3 separate regions of the Homo sapiens genome follow, and regions 1 and 2 are each linked to region 3. The links are contacts of gene promoters, found by promoter capture Hi-C in blood cells and fetal thymus (Javierre and others, 2016). All regions are on one chromosome and are shown on one strand. Each heading gives the region's core, a stretch centred on a gene start or on the middle of the fragment in contact. The rest is flanking DNA. Distances are from core to core; before and after follow the strand shown.

The links. The method cuts DNA at HindIII sites, captures the fragments that hold promoters and counts their contacts. A CHiCAGO score of 5 or more calls a contact.
Region 1: a fragment that was not itself captured here is called in contact with the fragment with the promoter of VPS37C in region 3 in 4 of 17 cell types (naive CD8 T cells, non-activated CD4 T cells, activated CD4 T cells and 1 more); the score reaches 8.3 in naive CD8 T cells.
Region 2: a contact is called between a fragment that was not itself captured here and the fragment with the promoter of VPS37C in region 3, in 2 of 17 cell types (total CD4 T cells and activated CD4 T cells). The highest score is 6.3, in total CD4 T cells.

The regions. Positions count from the first base shown.
Region 1 is chr11:60,859,712-60,863,779 of GRCh38, reverse strand. No RefSeq gene overlaps it. Among named protein-coding and RNA genes, the nearest start is that of PTGDR2, 5.8 kb to the right of the region's middle. The HindIII fragment of the contact is 7,101 bases long and covers 1-4,068 here.
Region 2 is chr11:60,803,842-60,807,894 of GRCh38, reverse strand. All of the region lies in intron 2 of LOC105369322 (a long non-coding RNA gene), which reads left to right. Among named protein-coding and RNA genes, the nearest start is that of MS4A10, 21 kb to the right of the region's middle. The HindIII fragment of the contact is 998 bases long and covers 1,378-2,375 here.
Region 3 is chr11:61,159,812-61,164,283 of GRCh38, reverse strand. VPS37C (VPS37C subunit of ESCRT-I) reads left to right here and starts at 2,858. Exons shown (of 5, transcript NM_017966.5): 1 at 2,858-2,893. RefSeq lists enhancers at 2,269-2,408, 2,419-2,468, 2,209-2,801, 2,802-3,395 and a silencer at 2,459-3,218. The HindIII fragment of the contact is 11,808 bases long and covers 1-4,472 here.

The sequences.
Region 1 (4,068 bases), core at 861-3,360, 300 kb after region 3:
TGGTGTTTTCTCCTGGTTACATTAGATTTAGTTGATGCATCTTGGCCTTGTATTAGTCCGTTTGGCTGCTGTAACAAAATACAGACTGAGTGGCTTAAATAAGTCTTTTTCTCACAGCTCTGGAGCCTGGATGTGCTAGGTCAAAGTGGTGGCAGGTCTGGTTGCTCCTGAGGCCTCTCTCTTTGGCCTGCAGACAACCGTCTTCTCACTGAGTCCTCACGTGGTCTTTCCCCTGTGCTGGTGCGTCCTTGGTGTCTCTTTGAATGGTCAAATTCCCTCTTCTTCTGGCTGGCACGGTGGCTCACGCCTGTAATCCTAGCACTTTGGGAGGCCGAGGTGGGCAGATCACTTGAGGTCAGGAGTTTGAGACCAGCCTGGCCAACATGGTGAAACCCCATCTCTACTAAAAATACAAACTAATTAGTTGGGTGTGGTGGTGCACACCTGCAATCCCAGCTCCTCAGGAGGCTGAGGTGGGAGAATCACTTGAACCTGGGAGGTGGAGGTTGCAGGGAGCCAAGACGGCACCACTGCACTCCAGTCTGGAAGACAGAGTGAAACTCCATCCCAAAAAACAAAAACAAATTTCCTCTTCTTCTAAGGACACCAGTCAGATTGGATTAGGGCCACCTTAAGGGGCTCAATCTTAAATCACATCTTTAAAAGCTCTATCTCCAAATACAGTCACATTCTGAGGGATGGGGGTGGAGGGTTAGGGATTTCGCATATGAATTTTGGGGGGATACAATTCAGCTTGTACAGAAGTGATGTTGTGTCCTTCTCAGTATCTCGAGGCACACCCCGCTGGCTTGTCCTGTTATTGCTGATGTGACTTTGATCACTTGGATAAGGTGGTGTCTGCCAGGTTTCTCCACCATAAAGTAATGATGTTTCTCTTTGTAATTCATGAGTATCTTACAGGGAGATACTTTGAGACTATGTAATCAATCCTGCTCCTCTTCAAATGTTCACTGGCTAGTGTGGTTGCCAAGTGGGTGGTGGTTCTCTAACTCTACCCTTCCTTCTGCATTTATTTGCTATCATAAGAGAGAACTTTTCCTAACGGGGGCTTTTAGGGGCCAGAGAGAGAATCAGCTGGAGTCTTTGAGAGGCCTGGATTTTGCCTGGTGCTCACTGTTTATGAGCACAAGGGCCCTGGGAAGTCACTTACCGGCTTTTTTCCTCTATCTGGAGAGTAAGGATGAGAATGATTATGGTGGGGATGCAATTACATAAGACACGGAGAGGTGTTTCCCCACTGGTCATGGACCCATGGGGAAAGTACGTCTCCCAAGGTGCTGGAAATGGGCAGGGAAAGAGAAGGGGGGCTTCCTCAGGGCCAAGGGCAGAACACCTTTGGGAAAAGGGTACCAGAGTATCCAAGAGAGAGAGAGAGCGCGCACGAGCGCCCTGAGCCCTCGGTTACGACTCTACGTTCTTGCAAAGACTCATGGACACCAAGAATTATCAGCCTGGGAGGATCCCAGCTCCTCTGCTCACCCACTGGAGACCTTGGAAAAGTCCCTTCCCTGCTCTGTGACTTGCTTTCCTCATCTATAAAATGGGGTTATAATAGCACCTAAATTGTAGGGTTGCTCTGAGGATTAAATGAGATAATCCATGTGAAGCAGGCAGAACAGGGTCTGCACATGGTCATCATTTGAACACGATAGCCATTACAACCACGATTATTTTTATTGATAAAGAGAGAGGGTCAGATGGAGGTGACTTGACTTGGAATCTTGGCTTTATCCACTTGGCTTCTGGTTTTTGGGTTTTTTTTTAGAGATGGGGTCTTGCTATATTGCCCAGGCTGGTCTCAAACTCCTGGGCTCAAGCAATCTGCCCGCCTCTGTCTCCCAAAGTGCTGGGATTACAGGCATGAGCCTCCACACCTGGCCACTTGGCCTGTTTGTAAACCTGTTTGTTCATTTCTTTCTTTCTGTTTTTAACCTATGAATTTTTTTTTAATGGAACTTCAGTTTCTTTTCTTTCTTTTTTTTTTTTTGTTTTGTTTTGAGACAGAGTCTCACTCTGTCGCCCAGGCTGGAGTGCAGTGGCGCGATCTCGGCTCACTGCAAGCTCCGCCTCCCGGTTCACACCATTCTCCAGCCTTAGCCTCCCGAGTAGCTGGGACTGCAGGCGCTGGCCACCATGCCCGGCTAATTTTTTATATTTTTAGTAGAGACGGGGTTTCACCGTGTTAGCCAGGATGGTCTCGATCTCCTGACCTTGCGATCCGCCCGCCTCAGCCTCCCAAAGTGCTGGGATTACAGGCGTGAGCCACCGCACCCAGTTGGAACTTGAGTTTCTTAATCTATAAAATGGAACTAAGAATACAGTCCACCTAAGTGGGGCGCCGTGTAAGTATCAGTTGCTTGCCCTGTCTCCTCTGTGAATAGAGCCTAGGGAAGGCACTGGAGGAGGATGGAGCCTCTCTAGGCTGGAAAGACAAAATCCCCTTTCAGGGGATCCATGCATGCCAGGAAACCAGCAGGAAGCAGGCTGCCTCACTCCGGGGCCTGCAGAGTAACCCAAGAGCAGCGCCAGCTGTGTGTGTATGTATGGACCGTGCTCACCGCAGAGATGCTCCCAGAAGGCCAGTGGGAGCGCATTTAACTGAAGACAGGCAGCCCTGCTTCCCCTGAGGGAACAAAGAACCTCAGAGAATCTCATCAGCTGCGAAGAGCTGGGCTCTGCTGCTGGACCACATGGCTCTGAACTCCAGCTCCTCTGCTCCCCAGCTGAGCAGGCTTGGTAGGGTTGCTTAAGCTCTCTGAGCCTCAGTTTTCCCCTTGGTGAGTGACGATGATAGTGGTACCTAACTCAGAGGGGTGCGTGAATATTTGATGAGCTCATCCATGAGCAAGTTTCAGCCTTACGCTGGCACATAGTGAGTGCCCCATAAGTGTTAGCTATTACTGTTTTCATTTTTTTTTTTTTTTTTTTTTTGAGATGGCGTCTCGCTCTGTCACCCAGGCTGGAGTGGAGTGGCAGGATCTCGGCTCACCATAACCTCTGCCTCCTGGGTTCAAGCGATTCTCCTGCCTCAGCCTCCTGAATAGCTGGTATTACAGGCGTGCACCATCACACCTGGCTAATTTTTGTATTTTTAGTAGAGATGGGGTTTTGCCTGTTGGCCAGGCTGGTCTCGAACTCCTGACCTCAAGTGATCTGTCCGCCTCATCCTCCCGAAGTGCTGGGATTGCAGGCATGAGCCACCGTACCCAGAAGCTATTATTGCTTTCACTGTGTTGAATGGTGGCCCTCAAAAGACATGTCCACAACCTAACCCCTGGAACCTGTGAATGTGGCCTTATTTGGATAAGAGGACTTTGCAGATGTAATCAATTTAAGAATCTCAAGATGAGAGCACCCTGGATGATCCAGATGAGCCCTAAGTCCAGTGACCAGTACTCTGTGAGAGACACATGAAAAGAGGGAGGGGGAAGGCCAGGTAAAGAGGAGGTAGAGATTGCAGTGATGCAGCCCTAAGCCAAGGGACGCCTGGAGCCACCAGAAGCTGGAGGGGCCAAAAAGTCTCCTTTTCTAGAGCTTTCGGAGGAAGTGCTGGCATCTGATTACAGACTCTGGCTTCCAGACTGTAAGAGAATAAGTCTCTGTTGTTTAAAGCTGCCACGTTTGTGGTAGTTTGTTCTGACAGCCCGAGGAAACAAATACACCACTGTTGTTTCTGCGACGATTGCCTGGCACATGTGTGGGCCTGAGCCCAGGCCAGGGCTGCCTCTGCCTGCTCTGCCTTCTTGTCTTCCTTCCTACTATAAAGCGATCAGTCCCCAAGGTTGTACCCACTGCAGGTGAAGACAGAGCCATGGAGAATTGCACCAGACCATGGGTAAGAAAGGTTCCAGAATGGGGCCGGACACAGTGGCTCAGGCCTGTAATCCCAGGACTTTGGGAGGCTGAGGCAGGCAGATCACCTGATGTCAGGAGTTTGAGACCAGCCAGGCTAACATGGTGAAACCCCTTCTCTACTAAAAATACAAAAATTAGCCGGGTGCGGTGGCGCACGCCTGCAGTCCCAGCTACTTGGGAGGCTGAGGCAAG
Region 2 (4,053 bases), core at 627-3,126, 360 kb after region 3:
GTTTCAGAGACAGAAGAGCCTGGACTTTGTCGTTGATCAGACGAAGGCTTGAGTCCTGTTTCTGCCACCATGAAGCTGCGTTAAGCAGCCTCTCTAGGCCTCCATATCTTTATCTGCAAAATAGAGACAACCACAGCCCTTTTCTGAGAAGATCCTTGAGGATGACCGGGCCTGGTGGCTCATGCCTATAATATCCCAGCACTTTGGGAGGTTGAGGTGGGTGGATCACTCAAGGTCAGGAGTTCGAGACCAGTCTGACCAACACGGTGAAACCCTATCTCTACTAAAAATACAAAAATTAGCTGGGAGTGGTGGTGCGTGCCTGTAATCCCAGATACCCAGAAGGCTGAGGCAGGAGAATCGCTTGAAACCAGGAAGAGGAGGTTGTAGTGAGCCGAGGTCATGCCACTGCACTCCAGCCTGGGCAACAGAGTGAGACTCTGTTTCAAAAAAAAAGAGAAAGATCCCTGAGGATGAAGAGATGCTGATAAACTGCTCAGCCACTTCTGGCACAAATAAACTGACAAACGGAGGCGGCATTGCAGAGCGGCCACGAGTCATAAGTTCAGGTTCTGGCATCCAATGGAGTGTGATTCCTCGTTCTACCACTTTCTTGCTACGTGACTTTCAGGAAATTACTTAACTCCTCTGGGCCTGAGTCTCCTAATCCATAAACTGCTTTTTGTGAGGACTTCTTGCAAAAGTGCTTAGAATGGTGTCTGGCATAGAGTAAGCACTCAGTAAAGGTTAGCTATTGGAGTGGAATAAAATTTAACATGGGGATGTTTGACGACTACCAGCCTCCAGGCTGCCAAAGATAATTCTGTGATTGCCAGTCCTGTCCACTTGTTCTACAACTTCTCTTGCCTCTGTGTGCCTGTGATGATCTTTTGATGTGTCAGTTTGGCTGGGCTACATCCCCAGCAATTCGACCAAGCATTAATCTAGGTGTTAATACCTGTGAAAGTAGGCCGGGCACGGTGGCTTACGCCAGTAACCGCAGCACTTTGGGAGGCTGAGGCAGGTGGATCACAAGGTCAGGAATTTGAGACCAGCCTGACCAACATGGTGAAACCCCATCTCTACTAAAAATACAAAAAATTAGCCGGACGTGGAGGCACGCGCCTGTAATCTCAGCTACTCAGGAGGCTGAGGCAGGAGAATCGCTTGAACCCTGGAGGCGGAGGTTGCAGTGAGCCAAGATCCTACCACTGCACTCCAGCCTGGGTGACAGAGTGAGACTCTGTGTCAAAAAAAAAAAAAACAAAAAAACCTGTGAAAGTATTTTGTAGGTGTGATTGAATCCACAATGAGTTGACTGTAAGTAAGGGAGATTTTCCTAGATAATCTGGGTGGGCCTGATTCCGTTGAAAAGCTTAAAGAATAGAACTGAGGTTCCCCTGATGAAGTTATTCCCCCTGTGGACAGCAGCTCCAGCTCTGCCTTCCCGAGTGTCTGCTCTGCCAATTGTACACTTGCGCCTGCAGCTCCCCCTAATCGTATAAGCCAATTCCTTGCAATGAATCTTAGTCTATATGTCTCACTGTTTCTGTTTCTATGGGGGAACCCTAACTGATAAGAGCATCCAGCACCTGGCAGGGGCCTGACACACCATGGGGACAATCTGCTTCTGAACGGATGCAAGGCAATCGGACTGTTTGGAAGGAAGTGAGGAGGTGGGGAGGAAGTGATCACAGCCATGAGGGGTGGTGAGGGGCAGGCTAAGGGTTTTGACCTGGGAAGAGCTAAGTCTTTGTGCAGAAGAAATGACAGGGCCAGGACAGCTCAGACACCTGCAGGCCTCTTCTCACACAGCCTCTCCTTCTGGCCATGCCCTGTATTCCAGATTAGGTCTCCATCACATTCTCTCATAACGCCTCTCAATTTCCCTTTATGGTAGTTATACATTCGCAGGTGTGATCGTTGGATTAGTGCCTGTCTCTCCCACCAGAGTCCGAGCTCTGAGAGGCTGGGGTTTGCTCATGGTGGTTTGCCCCTGGACATAGCATTGTAGGGACTCAGTCTTTACCTGTGGAATGAATGAAGAGTAAATGAGTGCAATGCCGTCCTGCCTCTGTGACCTGCCTTAAGGTCATGGAGACGGAGAAGGAAGAGGGTGTGGCTTTGAAGTTTCTTTTAGGCTCCCAGGGTCGGGCTGGGGTTAGAGTTTGCAGAATTATCTCATAGTCTAGGGGAGATGATAAATTTGGGAGCCAGGAAGTCAGGGTGCTGGATGCAGATAGGAGTTGGCCGTGTTCCTGCTCTCAGGCTCCTAGGAAAGCAGGTGGGGCAGGCTGGGGAAGTGTGGTGGTAGCTCAGGACCGGGGTTCTAGCCTCATGTCCATCAAAGGTCTGCTGGATAACTTCACTAAGCTTCATCTGGGCCAAGTTTCTCCATCTGTCTCATGATGGGTTAGTTGAGATGATCCGCAAAGATTCTTCCAACACCAGAGTTCAATGAGATTAGGAAGTAGAATTCTAGGTTCAAGGGCCGCAGTAAATTTTTAATCTCAACTGCAGAGTGCAAACCCTTGCACCTCCCTTCTGCAAACAGAGTGGAGTGAAGAGATCTACTTGCCTTGTTTTCCAGACTTCAGTCCTTCAAGCTCTAACTTCATGACTTTATTTTTTAATATTTTTATTAATTTATTTATTTGTTTTTATTGAGACAGAGTTTCGCTCTTGGTGCCCAGGCTGGAGTGCAATGGCTCAATCTGGGCTCACCGCAACCTCCGCCTCCTGGGTTCAAGCGATTCTCCTGCCTCAGCCTCTCGAGTAGCTGGGATTACAGGCATGCGCCACCACACCCGGCTAATTATTTTGTATTTTTAGTAGAGACGGGGTTTCACCATGTTGGCCAGGTTGGTCTCGAACTGCTGACCTCAGGTGATCCACACACCTCTGCCTCCCAAAGTGCTGGGATTACATGTGTGAGTTACCACACCCGGCCTAACTTCATGACTCTAAAACATTTGTGTTTTGTGTCGCTATTTGTTTAGTAAGTTTCCTTAAGTGGCCTCTTTTTTAAATCAATGATTTTTAGTATGGGCAGACTTATGCAAGCATCATTACAATTAATATTAGAACATTTTTGTCACTCCTTCAGAAAACCCCATATCCACTATCACTGTTTTAACTTACATATGTATATTATAAAAGAGCACTTGATAGCACTACCATAAATAGAAATTCAGTATCACTTGCCATAAATGGAAGATACGCATAAAAGTAAACCCAATGGGCATTCTGGCTAATACAGTGAAACCCTGTCTCTACTAAAAATACAAAAAATTAGCCGGGTGCGGTGGCGGGTGCCTATAGTCCCAGCTTCTCGGGAGGCTGAGGCAGGATAATGGTGTGAACCCGGGAGGCAGAGCTTGCAGTAAGCCGAGATCGTGCCACTGCACTCCAGCCTGGGTGACAGAGTGAGACTCTGTCTCAAAAAAAAAACAAAAAAACAAACAAAAAACCAAAACAAAACAGCACAAAAAAAACCAAAAACCAAAAAAAAAAAAAAAAACCCAATGGGAACAAAACTGTGTTGTCGAATTCTGGCTCTATACGATTGCCTGCTGCACGCTGGGCTTGCTGTCTTAGTAAAAGGAAGGAAGAACAAGTGTTAGGTGTTAAAGATATAGCTGTCCCAGGCTGGGTGTGGTGGCTCACGCCGGTAGTCCCAGCACTTTGGGAGGCCGAGGCGGGCGGATCATGAGGTCGGGAGATCGAGACCATCCTGGCTACCACGGTGAAACCCCGTTTCTACTAAAAATACAAAAAATCAGCCAGGCGTGGTGGCACGCGCCTGTAGTCCCAGCTACTCGGGAGGCTGAGGCAGGAGAATTGCGTGAACCCGGGAGGCAGAGCTTGCAGTGAGCCGAGATGGCGCCACTGCACTCCAGCCTGGGTGACAGAGTGAGACTCTGTCTCAAAAAACAAACAAACAAACAAACAAACAAAAAAGATATAGCTGTCCCAAACCAAGATTTTGTCCTTAAATAAATCTAAGAGATTGAAAAAGAAGTAATCCCTAACAGGTTTCCCCTCAGCGTCTCA
Region 3 (4,472 bases), core at 1,609-4,108:
GAGAAGTTACTATCTAGGGGGAGTGAAAGGTCAACTACAGAAAAGTGTAGAGAATGCTAAGAAAGGGCTGAAGGGTGGGGTGTTTGAATAACATACAAGGGGGGAAGTTACCCAGTCTTAGGATATAGGGGCTTTCCAGAAGTAGAGTCTAAGACTTAAAGGGCACAAGTGACAGAAAATCCAAAACAACAGTGACACGAGGTGGTTTATTTCCCTCTCACACAGAGCCCAGAGGCAGCCGTCCAGTGGTGTCATGGTCCTTTACGGAATCAGGGCTCAGGTTCCTTCTATTTTGTTGTGCCACTAGTGTGGCCTCTATTCCTATGGTCGCCTCATGGTTCAAGATGACTACACTTGCTCCAGCCATCATGTCCATGTCCCACCTTCCAACATGGTACTAATCAGTGAAGAGATTGCTGGATATAAACTCAAGCTAATCCATCAATAGTGTTTCCTAATTATTTTCCTTCAGAAATGAAACACATGCAGAGTTAAAAATCACATAGCAGCTGGGCGTGGTGGCTCACGCCTGTAATCTCAGCACTTTGGGAGGCCGAGGTGGGTGGATCACCTGAGGTCAGGAGTTCGAGATCAGCCTGGCAACATGGTGAAACCCTGTCTCTACTAAAAATACAAAGACTAGCCGGGTGTGGTGGTAGGCGCCTGTAATCCCAGCTACTTGGGACGCTCAGGCAGGACAATCACCTGAACCCAGGAGGCGGAGGTTGCAGTGAGCAGAGATCACACCATTGCACTCCAGCCTGGGCAACAAGAGAGAAACTCCGTCTCAAAAAAAAAAAAAAATCACATAGCACAAAAAGGCTTATGACAAAAAATTAAGGTCATCTGCCCTGGCCCTCCCTAACCCTCAGAAACAATTTCAACCTAGCTTTCAAACAGGTGCTGTCAATGGGAGTCACTCTGACATTCTGTACCAAGTGAAATGTTTGCAAAACCAACATGCCCCCGCTCAAAGGAGTCACCAGTGTCTCAGAAGGGTCAGCAGCTGACCTTCTTCATGGACCCCTTCTGTTATAAGAAGGAGTTTTGACAAATTCAGTTTGACAGAGTTTAATTGAGCAAATAATGATTTGTGAATCAGTCAGCCCCCAGAACCAGAATAGGTTCAGAGTGACTCTGAGGCTGCCAGGTGGTTGGATAACATTTAGGGATAGAAAACGGAAAGCAGGTTGGGCGTGGTGGCTCATGCCTGTAATTCCAACACTTTGGGAAGCCGAGGCTGGAGGATTGCTTGAGTCCAGGAGTTCCAGACCAGCCTGGGCAACATAGCGAATCTCCATTTCTATTAAAAAATAATCATTAAAATTTAAAAATAAGAAAAGAAAAAGGAAATAGATGTCCAGAAAACAGAAGCGAGGTACAGAAACAGTTGGACCAGTTATGTAAGCGCAGAACCAGCCCCATCTGGTTCAACTTTGTGTAATAAAGTGGTGAGTTGTTTTTTCAGTTGCCATGATCCCAGGTTGCAAGTTATGTAACCTGAGCGTGCCCAGAAGAACCAAGCATGCAACCACAGGCGCAACCTAAATGCTCAGACCAAAGAACCGGAACAGAATTAAGAAGTAGATACATGGTATAAGCCATGATCTAATCAGATTGAGCCATGGCATCATCCCATGGCAAGATCCAGTCAGATCATTGCTTATTGCAAGATTCAATCAGATCACTGCTCATTACCCTCTGCCTATAACACCTGTCACAGCCCCTGGCTTGGGGAGACAGATTTGAGCATGTCTCCTTCCCAGTTGACTTGCAACAAATCTTTCCCTCTACAAAAACCTGATACTTCGGTGTTTGGCTTTCTGAGGGCAAAGGGATCCAGTTTGGTTCCCTACCAATGACAGATTGACATTTGCCTTATTGGAACAAGGTTTGAACAGGTGGCTGCCTGTGATTGGCTGAAACTCTGTGATTGGTATGAGTAGGATCCAGTTCACTATGTACGGAGAAACCTTTAGGACAAACTTAAGATACGCCAGGAGACAACTTTAGGCTAAACTGGACACTTCTCCCCTTTTGGTCAACCTCTTGATTTTGAGAGGTTGGAAACTTTAGACATTGACATCAGTTACCATTGTAAATAGACTTATTTGGTCTCAAATTCCCCTGGGAAATAGCAGAGCAGTGGGTTTCATAGGTGGGAAAGGGAACAGAATAGAAAAAAAAAAAAAAACACCTGATTAGTTAACATCAGGTCACTTCAGATTCCTTTTTTTAAGGGTTAGAGCAGAGGGGGCTTCCTTATTATGCTGGACTCTCCTGTTTCCAGGGGGGAAGGGAGGAGATGGGGAATACTGGTAATTCTGTAGAATGAATGGGTGGGGGAAAGAGATTAACTAGTAAATGGAAATGAGTGTGTGGTGGCCTTGGGGCTCCTCAGTCTGAGCTCAGCCCATCTGGGGCTCCTCCTAGGTTCTGGGCTTCCATCTGCTTCCCCCTCCTTTTGGGTCCCTCTGAGAAGCCTCCCAAGATCGAGCTGTGTACAGAGCGAGTCCTCGCTGGCCACTCGGAAGGCGGCGGACGTCCGCGCCGGCGCACTAGCCCAGAGCGGCCTGGTCTCCGCCCAGTGGGCGGGGCCTCTTACCGGGGGCGGGGCCGAGGCGTGCGGCGAGCGCTGGAGGGGTCTCGTGGGCGCTCCCGTGGTTGTGGCCCGGGCGGCCGCGAGCGTGTGTGTGTGGCACGATGTCGTGGTAACTCAGAGGCGCGCGAGGCGGGGCGGCCAACGGGGTCGCGGGGCGAGCACGCGCGCCACTGGGGCGCCGGACGTTGCAAGGGGGTCACATCCGGTAGGGGGCGGGCCTGGCGGACCCCGGAAGTGTGGGCGCGGCTGCGGTTTAACCCGCGGTGGCGGCGGCGACGGCGGCCCTGGCAGGTGAGCGGAGACTGGGGAGGGTCCCGGCTCTGCCGCAGGCGGGCGGGGCAGAGGACGACGGTGGGGGCGGCGCCGGCCGTGGCTCCCGGAGCGCCCCCGCCTGCCCGCCTCATCCTGGCAGAGGCCGGTGATTGGGCACGAGGGGCGCGTGACTCTCGCCGGGGGCCGGCGCCCCTGCCCCTCGCGGTGGGAGGGAGGGAGGGAGAGCGCGAGGCGCCGCCCCGGCTCCCCGGCGGGTCGCACCTCCAGTTCCGCCCCACCACTCACCGCCACCCTCCTTTCTGCGTCTCTGCAGGCCCTCGTCCCATATGTGAGCATCTTGCGGTCACAATTCTGATGACATTAGAGCCAATTAGCCCATTGTATAGATGGGGAAGCTGAGGCCTAAGAGTAGGGTCCGACTTGCCAGAGGGCACGCGGGAGACGAGTGGCAGAGGGGAGGTTGGAGGGACTTTGCTCTGTGACTTACTGGCTTGTGCCCTTTCTCCAGGGCATTGAGAGATGGGAGTTTCAGCTTTGGCTTTGTTCAGGACTCAGACTTGGACCTCCCAGCATCACTGAACATTTCTTACCCCGGGACCCTCTGGGCGCAAAGGGCACTGATGTATACATACCCATTATATGCCTGGTTCCTCTTCATTTCCTCCTCAGCCGATGAGGCGATTTCCCACTTTACGGATGGGAGAAGGAGTTAACTGGAGGTGTTTTGTGAGTTACTGGCAGAGTGGACTCTACAACCTGGGGTTTTAGTCGCTGAGCTGAGGCAGTGCTTTCCCAGCTACACCTTGTCTGGGCTCACTTACCCTGGGAATGTCAGTCTTCAGCTCCAGAAACTTCCCACTCATTTCCCTTCGCTCCAGCGGTACCTCAGTTCTCTTGCTGCCTAAGGCCTTTTCCACCCTCTTTATTGGCTCCAGGAGTCCCATTTCCTACTAATGCACCAAGATGCTGCCACCAGACTCTCAGTTCTGTGACTTTTGGCCTTAGAGCTGGAGGTGGTGGTGACCGAGGAACTGGGGAAAGAAAGACTCTTACTTTGTTGTCCAAAGCTGCAACCCTGCAGACACCTGAACTCTGTAGTTCCGGGTGGGATCGGGGACTGTTGCAATGAAAATACTGGACGCTAAACTGAGTCTTTGTTCTTTGCGGTCATAGTGCCCAGAAAAGCCTTTTACCTAGATTATCTTGGAAATGTGGTTCCGTGCCTTTGTAATTTCCATTAAGTAGAACATTTTCATTGTAGACTTTCTGAGCAGTTTCTGGCCGCTGTTTTGCAGGTAGCAATAGCTGTGATTTGTTGCTTGGCTTCATATGCTGGGCACTGTTCTAGGGCTTTCTGAACATACCGAATTTTGCGAACATGTCCAAATAGGTGATGATCCCGTTTTACAGATGAAGTGAGTTGCGGAGATGTTAGATAACCTGGCTAGTGTCACACAGCCAGTAAGTGGCCAAGTTTGGATTTTTTTTTTTTTTTTTTTTTTTTTTTGAGACGGAGTCTTGATCTGTCGCCCAGGCTGGAGTGAAGTGGTGTGATCTCAGCTCACTGCAACCTCCGCCCCCTGGTTCAAGCGATTCT